Linked DNA regions of Homo sapiens: region 1 is linked to region 2. Evidence: promoter capture Hi-C in 16 types of primary human blood cells and fetal thymus (Javierre and others, 2016). All regions are on one chromosome and are shown on one strand. Each heading gives the region's core, a stretch centred on a gene start or on the middle of the fragment in contact. The rest is flanking DNA. Distances are from core to core; before and after follow the strand shown.

Region 1 (3,510 bases), core at 422-2,921, 330 kb before region 2:
ACTCAGGCTGTATGGGCTTGGCCATGGGATTTGCTTTAGCCAATTGGGCTTGAAAGTATTTGTGAAATTGACTTGTTTATTCTCAATCTCTCTCTCTCTCTTTTTCCCTCTCTCCCATAGCCACAAGGACATTTCTGGACTGACCTGCTAGAGGAAGATAGAAAGACATAGTGCCACTGGACATTTCATTTTGGCCTACAGTAACCAACACCCACAGAATGGAACTGCCCATGGGTACCCTTAGTGGGAAACAGGGATAAAAATGAAACTACTGCTTTCTCAACACCTACCGTGTGCCCGGAAATGTTAACTCATTTCAGTGAGATGGTGATGTTGGGGCCAGCATTCAAGCCAGCCTCCAGCCTGACTTGGAAGCTCTGGGTGTTCACACCACCTGGCAGTGCCTCCAAAGACAGCCTTTAACCCTGCTTCCTCGTCTGGCCACACTCCTCACCCACTCCAGCGCCGAGTCTGACCCCAAAACATCTCTGCGAGGGCAGACCTCCATGTTACAAAGTCCGGGAGACACTTTCCAACCTCACCTTACTTGCCCCTCTCAGCAGCTTGGCATCTGTGTGGCTGCGGGTCTCCTGGGTTTCCTCCTGCCTACCTGGCCACACCTTTTCAGGTATAGCACGATAATCTGTCTGTATTTTTTCCCTCTTTCCTTATTTCGTTTTTTCTTTGCTGTCTTCCTTTCTGTCTCCTTCTTTCCCGTCTTGGTTTTTTCCTTCCTTCCTGAAATGGAGGACAACTGTCCCTCTTTGTCCGGCAAAGAGTCACTTCTGGAGAGCATTTAGATACTCAAATGTTGGGCAACGAAGCATCCATTGTTCAGCGCTTAGGGGAAGAGGCGGATCAATTTGCATAAATCCTTTGAGATATTCAGGGAGAGGAACGTGCAGTACCAATTTATAATAGTGACCTGTGGCCTTGAGATTTGTGGACATATTTGGGTTATATAGCTCTAGTTCTCCCTGGTGCTGAAACTCAGGACTTAGCCCTTCAGGGCTGAGTAAATCTCTAAGAATCTTGATAGTTACAGATAAGGGAGTTGCAGAGGAAGACACTAAAGACCCTATAATATGGCCGGTGGAGGCTGGAGCCCTTAACTGGAATTTCCATTGCCAGCTCATCTCTTCTGTAAACCTTGATTTTCCTCAAGGCTCAGCCTTAGGCCATCTTCTTTTCTCATTCTCTGTTTGCTCCCTAAGTCATGAAGTACCCTGCCAAGATTTCAACGACTAACTACAGTTCGGTGTCTCTCAAATTGTTATCTCTGAATCAGATTTCTCCTTTGAGTTCCTAGAGCTAAGCAGTCAGCATCATCCCCTTCTGCATCATCTCGTGGTTCAAGATGGCTGCTTGAGCTCCAGCCATCTGGTCTGCATTCAGTCAGAAAGGAAGAAGGAAAAAGGGGAGAAGAACACACGCCACACTCCACACCATTTTAAGGAGATTTCTTTATTAAACAGCCAGTGGAACAGTTTCTTACATTTCATTGGTTAGAACTTGGTAGCACAGTCACATCTCCCTTCAATGGAAACTGGGAAATGTAATCTCTTAGCAGGTGACAAAGTGCCCATCTAAATAGTGAGATTATGTTATGAAAAGGTAAAAGATTGAATAGTGGGAGAAATCAGGAGTTTCTACCACAATGCCCCAGGTCATAAACATGATCTTACCTCCAAAACAGGCCCAGACAGGGAAATCTATAGAGGGTAAAAGTAGATTAGTAGTTGCTTAGGGCTGGCGGTGGGGAAAGAGGGGTGGAATAGGAAGTGATAACAAGGCCGGGCACGGTGGCTCATGCCTGTAATCCCAGGACTTTGGGAGGCCAAGGTGGGTGGATCACCTAAGGTCAGGAGTTCAAGACCAGCCTGGCCAACATGGTGAAACCCCATTTCTACTAAAACTACAAAAATTAGCCGGGTGTAGTGGCGGGCACCTGCCTGTAATCCCAACTACTAGGGAGGCTGAGGCACGAGAATCGCTTGAACCCTTGAAATCTGGAGGCAGAGGTTGCAGTGAGCTGAGATTGCACCATTGCACTCCAGCCTGGGTGACAGAGTGAGACCCTGTCTTAAAAAAAAAAAAAAAAAAAAGGAAGTGATAACTAAAGGATACAGGGTTTCTTCTTCTTCTTTTTTTTTTTTTTTTTTTTTTGAGATGGAGTTTCGAGCTCAGGCTGTAGTGCAATGGCATGATCTCAACTCACCGCAACCTCCGCCTCCCGGGTTCAAGCAATTCTCCTGCCTTAGCCTCCCGAGTAGCTGGGATTACAGGCATGCGCCACCACACCTGGTATTTTTGTATTTTTAGTAGAGACGGGGTTTCTCTATGTTGGTCAGGCTGGTCTCAAACTCCTGACCTCAGGTGATCCGCCCGCCTCAGCCTCCCAAAGTGCTGGGATTACAGGCGTGAGCCACCACGCCTGGTCCAGGGTTTCTTCTTGAGGTGAAGAAAGTGGCCAGGAGTAGTTGCTCATGCCTGTAATCCCAGCACTTTGGGAGGCTGATGGAGGAGTAGAGCTTGAGTCCAGGATTTCAAGACCAGCATGGGCAACATGTTGAGGCCCCATCTCTACAAAAATAGAAAAATATTAATGGAGCATGGTGGCACACACCTGTGTTTCTAGGTACTCAGAAGGCTAAGGCAGGAGGATCTCTTGAGCCCAGGAGGTTGAGGCTGCAGTGAGCCGTGATCTTACCACTACCCTCTGGCCTGGGAAACAGAGGGAGAACCTGTCTCAAGAAAAAAGAAAGTGTTCTAAAATAGACTGTGTTGAAGTTGGCGCATATCTATGAATTATACTAAGAACCATTGACTTGTACAATTTAAATGGGTAAACTGTGTGGTATGTATATTATATCTCAATAAGCCCATTTTTAAAAAAACAAAACCCACTAGAAGATAAACTTCAGGAGGATGGGACTTTGCTAGCTCCTGACTGTCTCTGGCGTGTGGTGGGCACCCAGGAGCTGTTTTGTGACTGGTAAATGAATGAATGCTTGACCTCTTTCTCCCAACCCCTCACTGCCAATTCAGTGCAAAATCCTATTGTTTGACCTCTAAGTTCTGGCCGCTTCTCCCCAGCTTCACTGCCACCACGCAGTTTCACACTACCATTTTCTCCATCTCACAAGAGCCCCCTCCCATCCATTCTCCACGCAGCTGTCACAGAAGCCTTCTAAAAAGACAGAACTGATCTGTCCTGCCTCTGCCAAAAATGCCTCAATAATTTCCCATTGCTCCCAGGACAATGTGCAAAACCCCAAACATGGCCTCCAGGCCACCTTGCCTGCCTTGGCTTCTCCACCTACCTTGCCTGCCTTGGCTTCTCTGTCACCACCATACTCTGCTCTCCCCTCTCTGCAGTAGGTATCAGCTCTCCTGGTTCCTCAGACACTGCCTAGAACATGGGCAGAGCCTCCACTCACCCCATCCCACACACCCACTCTCCTCTCCAGTAGAGCTCAGCTCCAGGCCATCTCCTTACAGGGCTTCCCA
Region 2 (3,699 bases), core at 1,068-3,567:
CCTGACCTCAGATGATCCACCCACCTCGGCCTCCCAAAGTGCTGGGATTACAGGCATGAGCCACCATGCCCAGCCAGTTTTCTTTCTTTTATGCAGTTACTATCTGGGTCGGTTTACTGTTTCAGAATAATGCAAATAAAGAGGAAAATGGGCCAGATGAAGTGGTTCATGCCTGTAATCCCAACACTTTAGGAGGCCAAGGAGGGAGGATCACTTGAGCTCAGGAGTTCAAGACCAGCCTGGGAAACATAATGAGACCTCATCTCTACAAAAAAACAGAAAACAAAATGTGGCTAGGATTAGTGGTGTGTGCCTGTAGTCCCAGCTACTTGGAAGGCTGAGGTAGGAGGATCACTTGAGCCTGGGAGGTCAAGGCTTTAGTGAGCCATGATTGCACCACTGCACTCCAGCCTGGGTGACAGAGTGGGAGCCTGTCTCAAAAGAAAAAGGAAAATGTATTCTCTTTTTCCATCTTTTGGAACAGAATATAGCATATGAGAGTCCTTGAAAGTTTTAAAGGACTTATCAGAAAATTATCCAAGCCTAGAGCCTTTGCTGATGTAATAATTTTAAAACTTCTACTTTTTCTCCCCTTGATTATTGGTTTATTCAGGGTTTTCTACCTTTTCTGAGGAAATTTTCTAAATTCATATGTTTCTATAAATTTGCCAATTTTAATGAGATGCTGTAATTTATTTTTTTTTTTTTTTTTTTTTTTTTTGAGACGGAGTTTCGCTCTGTCGCCCAGGCTGGAGTGCAGTGGCGCGATCTCGACTCACTGCAAGCTCCGCCTCCCGGGTTCACGCCATTCTCCTGCCTCAGCCTCCCGTGTAGCTGGGACTACAGGCGCGCGCCACCATGCCCGGCTAATTTTTGTATTTTTAGTAGAGACGGGGTTTCACCGTGTTAGCCAGGATGGTCTCGATCTCCTGACCTCGTGATCCGCCCGTCTCGGCCTCCCAAAGTGCTGGGATTACAGGCGTGAGCCACCGCGCCCGGCCTGTAATTTATTACTATAATTATGAGCCATTCTCTTATTATTTAAAATGTTAAAATGTTTCATCTGTACATATTGTTATATCAGTTTTCCCACTACTACTTTTGTGTGGTTGTGGGGTTTTATGTATTTGTTCTCTTTCGTTTGTTTTTAGGTGTTCTTTTTAAGCCCATCCTTCCTCTGAGACCTCCCTCCTCCAGTAGTCAGGCTCCTAGAAAGGCTCTCGTGCTAAACCCATCTGCTTTCTCCACTTTGCCCATGTACCCAGTACTCTGTGCAGAGTTTATCTGCTCCAAATTTCTCACTACAGATCTTGACCAGTACAAGACAATATCTATAACCAAAGTTTCCCTTCTCCTCTTTTTCTACAAAAACTTATTGATTCTGTCCCATCCGTATGTTATTTTCGGGTAGCTGGTTAATTCATTCAATGAAAACAATGAGAAGGAATGAAAAAGAAAGACCAATGAGATCACTGAAGTGGGGTTCCTGAGATAAGTTCTGAACCAGATCTGCCACGGACTAGGTCTGGGGCCTTATCTCCAGACCATAGTTTCCCCCAACTGTTAAAAAAAAAAAAAAAAGTAATTGGATTTCAAGATTTCCAGTCACATTCACCTGAAGCATTCTATGATTATTTATTATCCAGATTTTCAAATAAAATATTAATAGCTGAGACTACATTAACATGTTGTTCGGTATGTGTAATAGTTCCATTTTAACAGCTATCTTTGGGACTTTCAACCCAAAGCAGCAAGCAGCCTGAGACTTCCTAATACTGCTCAAATGATTTGGCAGTAGAATTGTTTATAAAATTCATTTGATCCTTCAGTGTTAAAGCCAAATCTATGTTGTTCCAGTACCCTAATAAAGTAATCAATAGAAGCCTGGATTGTTGTTGGAAAAAGTAAGGTAGGACCAAGAAACGGAAACCACCAAATTGCCAAGCAAAGCAGTATGATAACACTAAAGGATATAACACAAGTCTGCCCTTCTGCATTCATTTAATGTCAGTTATAATTTCTCCCAAAGGAGACCTTGAATTTTTTAATTATGTTCTCAAATTACAACATTTGAAATGGTAACTCTAGTTGAATACTCCTTCTTCTAGGCGTTGTATCTTCTAAGAAATGTCCCCCATTCCAGCTCTGTACATAAGGTTTCTACTAGGAACCTATCTCCAGAGCGACAGTTCATTGATTGGCCCAGAAAGGAGTGCATGACCAAAGCAAAGACAATGAGTTACTTCCCTGGATATTGGAACTTGGAACCATGACAATAAGAGGAGTTTCCCTGAGGGTGCTGAACATTCTGAGCACGTAAGCAGTGAAGCCCATGAGCCACTAGAAGCCACATGTTCTGCCATGTGGAGAAGAATGGTAAGTGTTAAGAGAGAAAAAATATACCTGTGTGCAGAGAGAAGTGAGGCTTAGAGGCAGCTGGATAAACACTCATAGAGCAACAGATTTGAGAGAGATTTGCAAACTATAAGGCTACTCGAGAGGCATCACTCTGAGATAAACTCAGACGGCTGGTGTGCTGCAGTAAATACTAGAGCAAAACTGCCTACTTTGAAGATAGCGAATGAGACTTAACCATGAGCAGTTGCCAATAGAACCTGGGAGCTCTTTGCATTGGTATCAGTGTTCAGACAGAAGACCGTGGCCATTTGAACACTGATCCACTGAGAATATAGAACAGTGTGGTGACAACAAATAGAGTGAAGTCAAGATGAGAAAAGAGAACATGAACATGGACCATGCTACCGTAGCTTGGTTTTATGCAGAGGGACATGTGGCTAGTACGTGGACATGACTGAATTGATTTTATATCATGCTTATGTCGACTATGTAATAAATTTAATGTAATTTTACTTCACAGGATAGATTTAGTGATTCATAATCAATCACTGTAATACTCAAAAGACATGATTGGATTAACCCTACAAGGTATAGTTACAGATACCTGACCCTAGAAGATTGCAAATGCCAATGTCAACAGCATTCCGATTTTCAGAGTATGAATGAAGCAAGGGATAAACAGTCCTTCTTACAGGATGGCTCAGTCCTGTCAAGAAAGTCCTTCTTACAGGATGGCTCAGTCCTGTCAAGATGTGCTCTGCATCCCTGTCCTTTAATCCTACTGACTCAGTCACACTTATAAACACTTCTGTGTTTATAACTTCTTTCCCATCTCCTCTCCCTGGAGTAACTTTCTATCTCCCACCACCCCACCTGGTAAATTTTATCTATTTTTTAATTTCCTACTCAAATATCATCAATGTGATGTTTTCCCCTATACCCCAGGCAATCCGAGTAGCTCTGAATCCTGTGATCAGCCACTTCTATGAAACATTTACTGCAGTTGTCACATTGCCTTCAATTACATGTTTACGTGTCTGTCTTTCCCAGCTGTGTTGTATTCATCTCTGTGCTCCCCAGATCTAGCACACTGCCTGTACTGAATGGTTATTAAGTGAAAGCAATGAAATAATTAATCCCTAACTACTATGCATTACAATAATGGTTATAGTTTTTTAATTTGTGACAAAATAAACTTTGCTGTAATTTTATATAGACATGGCAATAACATAAACTTTGGCTATTGTGTGTTCATTCTTGTTAGTCAGCTATCCATGCAATACAGCTATCTCCTTAGAACTTAAAACACAACCAATCAAAAAAAAAACACTATATGCTAGA

The links. The method cuts DNA at HindIII sites, captures the fragments that hold promoters and counts their contacts. A CHiCAGO score of 5 or more calls a contact.
Region 1: a contact is called between a fragment that was not itself captured here and the fragment with the promoter of DNAH8-AS1 in region 2, in 1 of 17 cell types (naive CD8 T cells). The highest score is 5.3, in naive CD8 T cells.

Annotation. Positions count from the first base shown.
Region 1 is chr6:39,285,413-39,288,922 of GRCh38, reverse strand. No RefSeq gene overlaps it. Among named protein-coding and RNA genes, the nearest start is that of KCNK17, 27 kb to the left of the region's middle. The HindIII fragment of the contact is 3,820 bases long and covers 1-3,510 here.
Region 2 is chr6:38,951,725-38,955,423 of GRCh38, reverse strand. DNAH8-AS1 (DNAH8 antisense RNA 1) reads left to right here and starts at 2,317. Exons shown (of 5, transcript NR_038401.1): 1 at 2,317-2,376. The region is part of intron 82 of DNAH8 (dynein axonemal heavy chain 8); the gene reads right to left. The HindIII fragment of the contact is 10,031 bases long and covers 1-3,699 here.